4 separate regions of the Homo sapiens genome follow, and regions 1, 3 and 4 are each linked to region 2. Evidence: promoter capture Hi-C in 16 types of primary human blood cells and fetal thymus (Javierre and others, 2016). All regions are on one chromosome and are shown on one strand. Each heading gives the region's core, a stretch centred on a gene start or on the middle of the fragment in contact. The rest is flanking DNA. Distances are from core to core; before and after follow the strand shown.

Region 1 (3,772 bases), core at 886-3,385, 420 kb after region 2:
TAAAATTAGAAGTTTAATAAAAAATAAAAAACAATGAAAGAGCCAAATAGAAATCCTGGAGCTGACAAATATAATGACTCAACTGAAAAATTCAATAAAGAGCTTCAACAGCAGGCTTGATTAGGCTTCAAAGGCTTAAAGTAATTGAAGCTGTTATCAGCTTAAAACAGATTTATGTTTTAAGCAGAAGAAAGAAATGAACTCAAAGACAGATCATTTCAGAAATAAAAAGAATGAAAAAGAGCAAAGAAAGCCTAAAGGACTTATGGGACACCATCAAGTGAACCAATATACACATAGAAGTCTCAGAAGGAGAAGCAAGAGAAAAAGGGATAGAAAGCTTATTTAAAGAAATAATGGCTGGAAACTTCACAAATCTAGGGAGAGAAATGGATACCTAGATTTCTGAAACTCAAAGATCTCCAAATAGGCTGAACCTAAAGAGTTTCATACTCAGACATATGATAAATTATTAAAAGTCAAAGACAAAGAATTTTGAAAGAAGAATGGGAAACGTGACTTGTAATATAAAAGGGAGGCTCAAAAAGGCTATCAGCAGATTTCTCAACAGAAACCTTGTAGTCCAGGAGAGAGTGGGATGATATATTCAATATGCTGAAGGAAAGAAAAGGAAAACTGGCAATTGAGAATTCTTTACCCAGAAAAATTATCCTTTGAGAGTGAAGAAGTGTTTAAAAAAAATCTTTCCCAAACAAAATATGAGTTTGTCACCACTAGACCTGCCTTACAAAAAGTGCTAAAGGAACTTCAAGAATAAGGTGAAATGAAAAGATGCTAAATAACAATACAAAAGCATGTGAAAGTATAAATCTCACTGCTAAAGGTAAATATAAGGACAAACACATAATACTGTAATATTGTGATAAAGGTATATAAATCACTTTGAACACTAGTGTGTAAATTAAGACAAAGTTGTAAGAATAATTATAACCACCGAAATTAGTTAATGAAAACACAATATAGAAAAAATAAAAGCTGACATCAAATATGTAAACTATGGCAAGTAGGAAGAAAAGTGCAGAATTTTGTATGCAATTGAAGTTATCAGCTTAAAGCAATTTAAGTTAAGTTGTTATCAGCTTAAAACAGATTTATGACTATAAAATGTTTAATGCAAGGTTCATGGTAACCACAAAAAATGTATAGTAGATACCTAAAAGATAAAAAGAAAATAAAGTATATCACTACAAAAAACAATCAAATCACAAAGGAAGGACAGCAATAGAGAAAGAGAGGGAAGAAGAGAGCTACAAAACAGAAAACAATTAACAAAATGGCAACAGTCTTTACCTAACGATAATTACTTTAAATGTAAATCGTCTTAACTCTGCAATCAAAAGACATTGAGTAGATGAATGTATAAAAACACAAGACCCAAAGATACAAAAGACTCATGATAGATTTAAGAACACAGATAGGCTGAAAGTGAAAGGTTGAAGAAAGATATTTTATGCAAGTGGTAACCCAAAAAAGCATATTTGGCTATACTAAATCAGATAAGATAGAATTTAAGTCAAAAGCTGTCACAAAAGCCAATGGAAGTTATTATACAATGATAAAAGGGTCAATTTAATAGGAAGCTGTAACAATTATAAATACATACGCACCCAACATCATCACCTAAATATATAAAGCAAACATTGACAGATCTGAAGGAAGAACTTAATCTTCTATTATTATTGTGTTGCTTTAATAGAAGACTTCAATACCCCACTCTTCATAATGGATACATCATACGGACAGAAAATGAACAAAGAAAGAGCAGAACTGACCAACCTCATAAAGCAACTGGACCTAACAGTCATATACAGAACTTTCTACTCAACAGCAACAGAATAATTATTCATCCCAGGTGCACATGAATATTCTCCAGAATAGATCATGTGCTAAGTCACAAAAAGGTCTTAACAAATTTAAGATTAAAAATATTCCATAGCCAGACGTGGTGGCACATGTTTGTAGTCCTAACTGCTTGGGAGGCTGAGGTAGGAGGATCACTTAAGCCCAGGAGTTCAAGGTTACAGTGACCTGTGATCATACTACTTCAATCCAGCCTGGGTGAAAGAATGAAACCCTGTCTCTAAAATAATAAAATGAAATAACATTACAAGTTTTTTTTTTTTTTTGACAGAGTCACGCTCTGTCACCCAGGCTGGAGTGCAGTGGCGCAATCTTGGCTCACTGCAACTTCTGTCTCCTGACTTCAAGCAATTCCTCTACCTTAGCCTCCTGAGTAGCTGGAATTACAGGCGCCCACCACCATGCCCACCTAATTTTTGCATTTTTCTTAGAGACGGGGTTTCACCACATTGGCCAAGCTGGTCTCAAACTCCCGACCTCAGGCGATCCACCTGCCTCAGCCTCCCAAAGTGCTGGGATTACAGGCGTGAGCCACCACGCTTGGCCACAAGTATTTTTTTTTATCAAGTGCAATGGAGTGAAACTAGAAATCAAGAATAGAAAATGGGAAAATTTATAAATACACAGAATTAAACAACACACTTTTAAACAACTAGTAGCTCAAAAAAAATCAAAAAGGGCATTTGAAAATACTTGAGACAAATGAAAATAAAAATAACATACCAAAACTTATGGGATGCAGCAAAAGCAGTACTAAGATGGATGTTTATAGCAATAAATGCCTACATTAAAAAAGAAAAATCTCAAATAAACCACCTAACTTTACACCTCACAGAACCAGAAAAAGAAGAACTAAACCTAAACTTATCAGAAGGAAGAAGAGGATGAAGATTAGAGAAGAAATAAATGAAATGGAGAATAGAAAATCAATTTTTAAAAACATAAAACTAAGTTTGTTTTCTTAAGCAATAAATGAAACCAACAAATCCTTAGCTAGGCTTAAAAAAAAGAGAGAGAAGTTTCAAATAAATAAAATTATAAATGAAAGAAAAGATGTTACAATTTATTCTCACAGAAATAAAAAGGATAATGAGACTATTATTAATAATTATACACCAACAAATTGGACAACCTACAAGAAATAAATTTCTAGAAACATACAACTTACCATGACTAAGTCGAGAAGAAATTGAAAGCCTGAACAGACCAATAACAGTAAAAGAGACTGAAGAAGTAATAATAAACTTCCCAAAAGAGAAAAACCAGGGACAAGATGGCGTCACTGGTGAATTCCATCAAATATTTTAATAATTAATACCAATCCTTCTTAAACTCTTCCCAAAAGTATAAGGAGAGAGAACACTTTCAAAGTAATTTATGAGGCTAGAACTCTGACACCAAAGCCAGACAAAGACACAAGAAGAAAAGTAAACCACGGGTCAATATCCCTGAGGAAAACAGATGCAAATATTCACAAGAAAATACGAGCATGGCCAGGTGCAGTGGTTCATGCCTGTAACCCCAGCACTTTGCGAGGCTGAAGTGGGATTGCTTGAGCCCAGGAGTTCAAGACCAGCCTAGGCAACATGACAAAACTCTGTGTTTATAAAAGATAAAAATATTATCTTGGCATGGTGGCGTGTGCCTGTGGTCCTAGCTACTTGGGATGCTGAGAAGGGAGGATTTCTGGAAGAATTTGAAGCTGCAGTGAGCCATGTTCGTGACACTGCATGCCAGCCTGGTGACAGGCAAGATACTGTCTTTAAAAAGAAAAGAAAAAAATACTAGCAAACCAAATACAACAGCCTATTAAAAGAATTATACACAATTACCAGGTAGGATTTATCCCTGGGTTATAAGGATGGCTTGACCTATGCAAATCAATCACTGT
Region 2 (3,450 bases), core at 195-2,694:
TTACCTTCTGAAAGCTCCTTCTCTCTACCTCTGCCCACCTTTCACTGCCATCTCAGACTGGATAAAAGGAGTGATCTTTGTATTTGGCTGGTACAGTTAACCCTATCCCCATCTCATTAAACTGTTCTTCCCTGGTTTCTGCCTGATCATGAGCCCAGTTACCCTGTGTGTATGAAGAGGGAGCAGTATGGAGGAATCCTCACTTTCTGCTCTGGATACAGAAGCCATGGATGGAGGGAGGACACATTGCAGTTGTGACTGGAATTCAGCATCTCACGTCTCTTTGTGCCCTAAAGCCCAGGGACCACTCCTCTTCTCTCACTGCTTCCCTCACCCATCACATGGCAGAGGGTAGCTGGCATGCCTTTTGACAGGAGCCCAGATCTGACATATTTTCAGCATAGTGGATCTTAGGGAGTGAATGTGTAGTTCATAGAGGGGACATACCACTAGCCAACCTCATAGAACTTGCTCAGACCAGCAGGCTTGATCCGGGGCTGTAGGTCCCCCAGCAGGGACAGCAAAGGGATGCTGGATTTGTATGAAACACATGTCTTAGGTCTCTTTCCCTCTTTACGACAACATACTGCCTGTTTCTGTGGCACTGTTCACAGATCACTGACTTTACCCGCTCCCCACCCCACCTCCAGCACAAATACCCCATTTTCCACAGTCTGTGTGTCATTCTTTTCCTCTGGGCCACAGGGGAGCCTCCTTAGGGTGGCACACAGCCCTCCACTAGCTAACCAATCTCCTCTCCAGAGCCCGTCAGGAGACTCTCTTTTCAGATGAGGTATCCCTCCTCCATCTGAAGCCATATCCCCAGTGAATATGTCCTGCTTTCTTCCTCCTGTCGCTGCCACACGCATGCTCTCGACCACCAGGAAGACCTGGAGGCAGGCAGGGGCACAGGGAGGGATTTTCTGGCAAAGTCTGCACAAATATACCTGGTCTGAAAGAGGAACACTGATGCCATGGTATGGCGGGCCTCTCTGCTCCCCAGATGTGCTAGTCCCCAGAGGCTGTCAGAGCAGTCCTTTGCTGGAACTTCCTCTGCACTTGCCAGCCAAGAGTGGACCAAATGCAGCCTTTGACTCCCCAACCTCATACATCCATCAACACTCTGCAGAAGCCTACCCTAAGGGCTTGTTGCAACCCCAGCCCATACCCCTCTTCTTTCCTTCATTCTTTCCAGATTGTACTGAAGTCCATCCTAGGCAGCCGCCTCCTACTTTCTTCTCTGCTCACCGCCTTCAGGCCTTGCTCTCCACTCCTGGCTCACACACAGACGGTTGCTTACCTGGGAAATGCAGACAGCAGTGTGGGGCCTCTGCCCTGGCTTCTGTGACACGTGGGCTCTCAGCAACAGGAACCAGTTAGGTACAAATCAGCAGAGATGGTGTCTCTGTCTCTCACGCTTTGTGTCCAGTCCAGCGGCTGCAGAGAGAGCCTCTGGAGGTGGGGCCAGTGTAATACACTCAACCTTCCTGCCTGCATCCAGAGAGCAGCCTGGGAAATAGAGTGGGGCTGCCCTCTCTCACTGCCTGAACCGATCCTCTGGCTCCCTCTGCTCCTGCCTCCCCTCCCTGCCAAAGCCAGCCTTCCTCCTTCCCTCCTCTCAGTCTTCCTGCAGGTGGCCCTATGCCTCTTGTTCACTTTCACTCCTTCCTTCCACAGAGCAGTCCATCCTTCACTTTAGCCCTGGTATGCCCATGGGCCACATGTCACTTGTGAGCTTCCTGGGTAGCATGCTTTTTCCCTCCTGGAAGGCAGAACAGAGTATTTGGCCTATATGCCCACCTCCCTATTCTAGTACCCACCTTTTGCAGGACTGTGAGTTGCAGAACTGTGAGGGGTTGGGATTCCCAGAATTCTTTGTAGCAGCCCATTCATTGGCTCAAAGATGCCCACAGCCTTTTAACTGGGAGTAGGGGTGCAGGGAGATGGTTTTCTGTCTTATGCATACAGATGCCAGGCCTGTCTGGGGTCTCTTTCCACTTTCAGCATTGATTCCCATGCAGGTTCATTTTGAAGAGAAGGATTGGCCCAAGGTAGAAGACTCAGTACATTCAGAATTTTTACCCACTCAAGTCTAATGTGCATTTATTAGGATGAACATTCAGGGCATTAAAATAGGTGATGGAAGTGTGGTTCCTGTGATGTCACTAGGTGGTCACAAAGTATACTGATTGACAGCACGGTCTGGGTCTGGGTTTGAATCTTACTACTTACTAGCTGTGTGATCTTGGGCAAGTTATTTAACCTCTGTGTGCCTTAGTGTCTCATCTGCAAAACAGGGACCAGGATACTATTGCCATCATGGAAGTTTGGGGAGTATTAAATGAGATAATGCATGTAAGGAGCTTAGTTCGGTGTTTGGAACATAGCAAGTACCCAAAAACGTTAGCTGCTTTCATTGTTATTATTGACGATTTTTAAAAATTTTAAGTTCCGGGATACATGTGCAGGATATGCAGGTTTGTTACATAGGTAAACATGTGCCATGCTGGTTTGCTGCACCTATCAACCCTTCCTTCACCTAGGTATTAAGCCCGGCATGCATTAGCTATTTTTCCTGATGCTCTCTCCACCCCGCACTCCCCCAACTGGCCCCAATATGTGTTGTTCCCCTCCCTGTGTCCATGTGTTCTCACTGTTCAGCTCCCATTTATAAGTGAGAACATGCGGTGTTTGGTTTTCTGTTCCTTTGCCAGTTTGCTGAGGATAATGCCTCCAGCTCCATCCCTGTCCCTGCAAAGGATATGATCCTGTTCCTTTTTATGGCTGCATGGTATTCCATGGTGTATATATACCACATTTTCTTTATCCAGTCTATCATTGATGGGCATTTGGGTTGATTCCAAGTCTGCTATTGTGAATAGTGCGGCATTGAACATATGCATGCATGTATCTTTATAATAGAATTATTTATATTCCTTTGGGTATATTCCCAGTAATGGGATTGTGGATCAAATGGTATTTCTGGTTCTAAATCTTTGAGGAATCGCTATACTGTCTTCCACAATGGTTGAACTAATTTACATTCCCACCAACAGCGTAAAAACGTTGCTATTTCTTCGCAACCTCGCCAGCATCTGTTGTTTCTTGACTTTTTGATAATCGCCATTCTGACTGGCATGAGATGGTATCTCATTGTGGTTTTAATTTGCATTTCTCTAATGATCAGTAATGTTGAGCTCTTTTTTCATGTATTTGTTGGCTGCATGTATGTCTTCTTTTGAGAAGTGTCTATTCACATTCTTTGCCCACTTTTTAATGGGGTTGTTTGTGGGGGGTTTCGTAAATTTGCTTAAGTTCCTTGTAGATTCTGGATATTAGACCTTTGTCAGATGGATAGATTGAAAACATTTTCTCCCATTCTATAGGTTGTCTGTTCACTCTGATGATAGTTTCTTTTGCTGTGCAGAAGCTCATTAGTTTAATTCGATC
Region 3 (3,905 bases), core at 1,049-3,548, 500 kb after region 2:
GTGATAACTGGCTGTTTTCTCTCCCTTCAGACAAAAATTATCCTACATCAAAAAAGAGAAGTAATCAAGCGAGACCCCCAGCAGAGATAAATCATCTCTTAGAGGCCTCCTAACACTGACAGAAACTTTTCTGGTCAAAAATGAAAGGTCCTGGTACCATCTTCCCCAGAAACGATCAAGAAGGGCAATGGGTTGACAGCCCAGATATGGCAGGACCAGACTGCAATGGGTAAGACTTGGGCAGAGCATGAGAGGAAGCGCATCTTTCCACTACAGTGAGTTGGGTCAGGAGACCTGGGCTCTAGGTCTTGCTCCACATCTTCCTGGCTGTGTGCAAATCCTGGCTCAGGTTGTTAAAGAATCCCATGACAAATGGATGTAAAGATCACTGAAGGCAATCAGGAGCAAGGTGCTATAATTATCAGCAAGGACAGATGGTGTCTTTTAATGGTAGGATCTCTCATTTAGACAATGACTCACACCCATTGTCTCAGTAAGTCCTCACAACAACCCTGTGGGCAACCATGTCAGAATTCATTTATTTTTAAACAGTTAAAGAATCTGACTCACAGAGAAGGTAAGTGACTCTCCTAAGATTACTGGGCAGTAAATGGCAGCATCTGGACTAGAACACACCATTTCTGATTTTTTGTCCTGTTCTTGTTCTATGCCAACCTTTTATGTAACTTTTCATGCACAAAAGGAATAGTTCTTCCCGAGAGTTCTGTTCATTTGCCAACTAGTGGATAAAAAAACTTTAAGGTTTTTGACCTAAAGCCCTAAACTATTGTCATAATTTTAAATGAATAGGCCTATTTTCTCTCCTTTGAGAAAAAAAAAATCAGAAGTAAAATGAGTCAGAATTTCCTGAACAAGCCCTCCACCTGAGGTAACTGAGGACAGGTTGGCTTGTCATCTCTGTGGGTTACAGAATAGGAAAGGACTGGAAAGCTTTTTGGAGAATACTTTCAAATTTCTGGCCAAAGCTTCCTGCTGTGCCGAAGTTTTTTATTTCCCAGACTTTTCACAAGGATGAAAAAGGTGATGTTGGAGCAGAACTCATGAACACCTGAGACTCTGAGGTCACCTGGTGGGGCTGTGATTGCAGGAGATCCAGGAAGACTGTGGGCAGACATGACTCTAGAGGAGGCTGAAAAAAGGCCAGGTGTGGAGAGCCCCTTGGGCCCCTGGGAGAAGGCCCAGCAAGACAGGAAGGCCTAGACAAAAGGGCATGAGTCTTCCCTTCCCTATCAGGGCTAGAGCTTTAGAACAGGACTGCAATTAATAGAATGAAGAGTGGGCATGAAACAGAATCCCAGTTCCTAAAAATCAGGCAAAAACTAAGGCAAGACCCCAGGTAAGGAATAAAGAAGAGCTCAGTTAGTGGAATTGAGGTAACAGGGAAGCATTTCATCAAAAAAGAACAAGTCACAAGCCCCAGGCATGAAACTAGAGAGGATGTTAGGCCAGCAACAAGGTGACTGACAAGGATCTAGCAAAATACTAACTCGTGGTCACATACTGAAATACACTCACATTGGAGTGGGACATGGGTGAACCTGCATGTTGGCAATAGATGGGCCACACTTAAGGAAAAGAAAGGTACTTTTCCTGATCTATTTGAACTTAGATCTTTGCCCCATCTTCCTATTTCTTAATTATCTTTCTCTCCACATTCACCATGGTTATACTCATGTGTAGGTATGCAAACACACAAACATGTTATTTAAAAGGATTAATGATACTTATTAGGTCTTCCCTGAGTTGGAAAAAAAAATCTTCTCTTTTGTTAAGTTTTGTTGATTGCTTCTTTCGGTTTCTTACATGCTCCCTTCAAAGATCCCAGATCTAACATGTTCTAATGCCAGTTAGTCTAGTGTCACTAAGTCAGTCACCTGTAGAATACAGGCAGGGTGTATAAATGAGTAACGCAGTCCATGAGAGATAAGAAGGAGTGGTAGAGACTGTGGTGAACTGGAGAACGTGTCCCAAAGGGGTCAGAGACAGTCCGCTCAAGCCAGCCAACCTGGTGTTGCCAGAGCTTCTACTTAGGAATAAAAAGAAGGAAGGAAGGAAGGAAGGAAGGAGGGAAGGAAGGAAAAAAGTGAGAAATTAAAAATGTCTGTAACATTACAGTTAAAACAAAACTTAGTTAGGGACAAGACTGACCCACAGCCCAACAAATTGCATTCCTTGCTTTAATATTTTTCTTTGCCCTTGAAATTAGATTTGGGTCTTGGGTCTAGTTTGAATAAAAAATATGGGAGGGGAGGAAAAGGCGTCCCAACACTAGATCCAGGGGCCACTGCCGTCTAAGGAAAAGGCCAAGAAAGAGGGACCAGGTAAGGAACCTGGCCTACTTCAGTTCCTGTGTTAGTTTCCTTTTGCTACCATAACAAGTTACCAGAAACTTAGTGGCTTAAAACAACACAAATTATTATTTTACAAGTCTGTAGGTCAGAAGTCTGACCTGGGACTCAAGCTAACATCAGGGTGTCAGGAAGGCTGTGTTCCCCTCTGGAGGCTGTTGGGGAGGATCTGTTTCCTGGTTCATTCAGGTTATTGGCAGAATTCAGTCATTGTAGGTACAGGATGGAGGTCTCACTTCCTTCCTGGCTGTCAGCTGAGAGCCGTTCCCAGTTTCTGAGAAGCCACCTGCATTCCTTGGCTCATGGCCTTCTTCCTCTGTCTTTAAATCCAGCAATGGTGGGTCAAGTCCTGCCCGTTCTTTGAATTTCTCCTGCCTCTTCTTCTATCATCACATCTCTCTGGTTCCCTCTTCTGCCTCCCAACTCCCTTTTAAGGGCCCACCCAGACAATCCAGAATAATGTCTCTGTTTTAAGGTCCTTAGCCTTAATTCCACCCACCAAATTCCTTTTGCTATGTAAGGTCACACATTCACAGATTCTAGAGTTTAGAGCATGGATATCCTAGGGTGGTCACCAGAAATTCTACCGACCATGGTCCTAGACCACCTTCCTTAGAGAAGAATGTATGAACGCACAATCTGGGCCTCTGATGCGATTATTGCCTCCTAGAGACTTGGGAACACCATTTTTTTCTTTCTCTTGTCATAGCTCTGACTATTCTTTCTGATTCTTCTTCACATTTCTTCTGCTTCTTCCTTAAATATCAGTGCTCCCTGTGGCTCTCCTGTTGAACTTACCTTCTTACAACGCACTCTCCCATTTGCTTGAGATCCCTAGCCCCTAGCTTCTCCTCTAATAGGATCCACTGCAAATTTAATCCATTCTAACAGGATCCACAGCACAAATTTAATGTATCCCAAATCAGTTTTGGCCCCTTTATTTCTTTTCTCCAATCAACCCCATCTTCCAAGCTAGAAAACTCAGAATCATCCTCAACTCATTCCTCTGCCTCCCCTCCCATATTTTACATGCAGGAAAGGGAAGTTCTGCCACTCTGCCTTGGACATGTCGCTGCTATCCAGACCTTCCTCTCTATCCCACTGGCACTGCTTTTGTCGGGCCCTTGTCCCCATCACTGGCCCTGTGAAGTCACCACATTCCCCTCTCCACACACACCCAACACACTCTGCTTCATCCCACACACTGAGAACAAATCTGACCTGCTCATTTCCTCAGCGTGAAAGCTTTTATTCCCCTCCTTCACCTGGTTGGAAAAGTCTCACTCCTTTGTGGGACATACAAGGCCATTGCTAATATGGCCTCAGTTCAGGTTTCCAGGTTTATCTTTTTCCTCTCTCTATCTCATACACACCATTCTCCAGCAACTTGGTGATTGCCTAAAGGGCCCTTCCCTTTCTTCTCCATCACACAGACATCACACTGTGATACCTCCTGATTCCCCTTTCTCCTCTTACTCTCTCCTCTTAGTTTCTGAGACACATTTTTTCCTCTCCTTGAGATACTTATTCATGTAT
Region 4 (3,809 bases), core at 278-2,777, 360 kb after region 2:
AGCCTGTAATCCCAGCACTTTGAGAGGCTGAGGCAGGTGGATCATCTGAGGTCAGGAGTTCAAGACCAGCCTGACTAACATGATGAACCCCCGCCTCTACTAAAAATACAAAAAATTAGTTGGGCGTGGTGGCGGGTGCCTGTAATCCCAACTATTCAGGAGGCTGAGGCAGTAGAATTGCTTGAACCCAGGAGGCAGAGGTTGCAGTGAGCCGAGATCATGCCATTGCACTCCAGCCTGGACAACAAGAGTGAAACTTTGTCTCAAAAAAAAAAAAATTTTTTTTAATAGAGATGAAGTCTTACTATGTTGCCCACACTGGTCTTGAACTACTGGCCTCAAGCAACCCTCTTGCCTCAGCCTCTGAAAGTGCTGGGATTACAGGCATGAGCCATTGTGCCTGGCTGAATTTTTTTCTAATTCTGTGGAAAATGACATTGGTAGTTTGATAGAAATAGTATTGGAATCTGTAGATTGCTATGACCATCTTAATAATATTGATTATTCCAATTCATGAGCATGGAACGTTTTTCCATTTGTTTGTGTCATCTATGATTTCTTTCAGCAGTGTTTTGTAGTTCTTGTAGAGATCTTTCACCTCCTTGGTTAGATGTATTCCTAGGTATTTTTTGTGTATGTAGATATTGTAAATGGAATTGTTTTCTTGATTTGACTATCAGCTTGATTATTATTGGTAAGTAGAAATGCTACTGATTTTTTACACTAATTTTATACCTTGAAACTTTACTAACTTGATTAGTTCTAGGAGCCTTTTGGCAAAGCCTTTAGTGTTTTCTAGGTATAGATTCATATCATCAGTGAAGAGACATAATTTGACTTCTTCTTTACCTATTTGAATGTCTTTTATTTCTGTCTCTTGCCTGATTGCTGTGGCTGGGACTTCCATTACTATGTTGAATAGTAGCAATGAGAGTGGGCATCGTTGTCTTGTTCTTCTTCTCAAAGGGAATGCTTCCAGTTTTTGCCCATTCAGTATGGTGTTGGCTGTGGGTTTGTCATAGACAGCTCTTATTATTTTGAGATATGTTTCTTCAATGCCTACTTTGTTAAGGGTTTTTAATCATGAAGTAATGTTGGATTTTATTGAAAGCTTTTTGTGCATCTATTGAGATGATCATATGGATTTTGTTTTTAATTCTCGTTATGTGGTGAATCACATTTATTGATTTGTGTGTTTAACCAATCTTGCATTCCAGGAATAAAGCCTACTTTGATCTTGGGGCTTTTGATACTGAGAGGCTGGGCAGCTGCATGGGCAGAGGGAACAAGTAGGCAAAGACAATATTTGTAAACTGGTGAGTTTTGGCTCTATCAGTAGCTCAAAACTATAGCTTTCTATTGGATTATTAACTGTTTTTTACTTTTCTTTTCAAATAAACCTGTTTGACTTGGAATGAAATATCTAAAGCTACAAATTCTTATTGCAAATAAAAAATCTGAAGGCTGGTTAGTAGCTGGGCTGTGAAGAGGTCTTAGGCCCTGGCTGGGATTATCTAGACATCAGATATATTTCCCTGAGTGCTATGGCCTTGCTTGTTTCATTCTGCCATGGAGAAGCTGCAGTGTCAGCTCCATATGGGCAGGCATAGAAGCCCACTGTGCCCTATGAGGGAAGAAAGTCTGACACCTCCTTCTAGAATGGAGTTTGAATTTCTTCAAAGTGGAACTCTGAAGGTTAACTATGGGAACCAGCAGCCAGGACTGCCTCTGGGGTGTGATCGGAGGGGCCTTTGCAAATTTCATCCCCTAAATCACCTCTTCTATTTCCCTGATCCCCAGCCCCAACACCCCAAGCCAAGATATCTGAATTCTGTCATTGTGTGGAGACTTGGGGCTGGGGTCTGGACTTGGTCTGCCTGAACTTAAACCCTGACTGTAACGTGTATTAACTGCATGAACTTTGGGTTAATTACTTAGGCTTTCTAAGCTTCAGTTTCCTCATTCTCAAAATGAAGATACTAACTGGCATTATTATTAACATAAATTAGGATTTTTTGTGAGATTGAATGATAAAAAACATATAAAACCTAACTTAGCATCTGTCACAGAGTAACTCACAATAAACCTTGGCAAAGGAGCACTAAAAGCTTAAAGAATAAAATAGATAAATAGATAAAAAAGAAAGAATAAAATAGATAAAACATGGACATGTGAAAATGTTGCCTTGGATAATGATAATATTTTTAGAAAATACTCTTACTAGCATTATTATTCTCAATTTTGACAGCCCCCTAGTGACTAAGTACAATTATCAGTCTTTTAAAATAGATGATGATTTCTGAGGTTCAGAGTAGCTATGTGACTTTCCAAGTTTATGTAGCGAGAAAAATTAGGAATTCAACTGGATGGCCCAACTTTGAAAGCCAATTTTTTCATTACAATGTGCTGCCAGCATGAATGCTTAGAGAGGAGAGGACAGGGCAATATTCGATGTCACACAAGAAGGAAATGTGAAAGGGTGCCCAGATTGACACTTTTGTGCATGGAATTAGGTGTTATCGTGGAATCATTGAGAATCCACATTCAGTTGCACTCCACTATCTTTTAAAAAATCATATATAAGAAACTTCAAGTATTCAAAATATAGAGAATGTTCAAAAAAGGACAGGCCAGGCACAGTGGTTCATGCCTGTAATCCCAGCACTTTGGGAGGCTGAGGCAGGCGGATCACCTGAGGTCAGGAATGGAGACCAGCCTGGCCAACATGGTGAAACTCCATCTCTACTAAATTAGCTGGGTGTGGTGGTGTGCACCTGTAATTGCAGCTACTGGGGAGGCTGAGGCAGGAGAATCGCTGAACCTGGGAGGCAGAGTTTGCAGTTTGCCAAGATCACACCACTGCATTCCAGCCTAGGCGACAGAGCAAGACTCTGTCTCAAAAAAAAAAAAAAAAAAAAAAAAGAACAAAAGATTACCCTTAAAAACTTCAGCTAGAATCAATGTTCTGAAGTCTTGGGTAGTGAATTATGCAAAGAGCCACTTTACTCAGAGCCAATTTACTTTCTTTAGACACAATGTTAACCAGTTTGCCTAACTGATTCATTCCCTACATAATAGGAGATTATAAGAAACATACTAATTGAAGAAGAAAATTCGCATTGACAGTGGAAAGAACGAGATAGCAGTCTGACAAGAGAATAAACTCTGACAAGCAGAACAAAATCCTAAAAGATCTTAACAGTTTGGGGCTAAGTGTAAATAATCACAGCACTCACCCTGTATCCTTCTCCCACCGCTCATGGTGCTCCTGTATGATGTGGGACAGGATAAGTAAGTGAGCCATAAACAATTAAAAGTTAAGTACATTCAAAATACTTTATCAAAGATGGCAGAGATGGCTCAACACACTTTAACAATATTAATGTCTAAAATGGTTTTAAGACTAAAAAACCAAAAACTATTTTCATTCCAGTTTCCTAAACAATTTGATGGCAGGTAAACTGAAGTTTCATTGTCACTAAAAAGTGATTCGTGTGCATAACGATTACTAAGCTCAGAGGACTAGCAAAAGCTTCAAATCTCAAAGTCATCATACCTCATTTTCTGGTATAATAAAGTAAATCAACAAAAACACAACTTTAAATCAACAAGATATTTCAAAAATAAATAAATATTGAGCAGAAATGGCTATTATGCCATCAAAGTATAAGTGGCACAGTATATTATATATGAAATTTTTTTTGAGACAGGGTCTTGTGCTATCAGCCAGGCTAGAGTGCAGTGGAACAATCACAGCTCACTGCAGCTGTGACTTCCCAGACTCAAGTGATGCTCCCACCTAAGTTGGT

What was found. Contacts are between HindIII fragments. The CHiCAGO score rates a contact against its expected background, and 5 or more counts as called.
Region 1: a contact is called between a fragment that was not itself captured here and the fragment with the promoter of ZNF648 in region 2, in 1 of 17 cell types (neutrophils). The highest score is 6.8, in neutrophils.
Region 3: a fragment that was not itself captured here is called in contact with the fragment with the promoter of ZNF648 in region 2 in 1 of 17 cell types (neutrophils); the score reaches 5.2 in neutrophils.
Region 4: a contact is called between a fragment that was not itself captured here and the fragment with the promoter of ZNF648 in region 2, in 1 of 17 cell types (erythroblasts). The highest score is 6.2, in erythroblasts.

Annotation. Positions count from the first base shown.
Region 1 is chr1:182,478,329-182,482,100 of GRCh38, forward strand. The region is part of intron 6 of RGSL1 (regulator of G protein signaling like 1); the gene reads left to right. Among named protein-coding and RNA genes, the nearest start is that of RGSL1, 30 kb to the left of the region's middle. The HindIII fragment of the contact is 3,594 bases long and covers 339-3,772 here.
Region 2 is chr1:182,060,268-182,063,717 of GRCh38, forward strand. It overlaps ZNF648 (zinc finger protein 648), which reads right to left and starts at 1,445. Exons shown (of 2, transcript NM_001009992.1): 1 at 1,301-1,445. The HindIII fragment of the contact is 14,548 bases long and covers 1-3,450 here.
Region 3 is chr1:182,555,994-182,559,898 of GRCh38, forward strand. It overlaps RGSL1 (regulator of G protein signaling like 1), which reads left to right. Exons shown (of 22, transcript NM_001137669.2): 21 at 31-229. The coding sequence ends at 64. Among named protein-coding and RNA genes, the nearest start is that of RNASEL, 31 kb to the right of the region's middle. The HindIII fragment of the contact is 2,628 bases long and covers 985-3,612 here.
Region 4 is chr1:182,421,617-182,425,425 of GRCh38, forward strand. No RefSeq gene overlaps it. Among named protein-coding and RNA genes, the nearest start is that of LINC00272, 16 kb to the left of the region's middle. The HindIII fragment of the contact is 837 bases long and covers 1,110-1,946 here.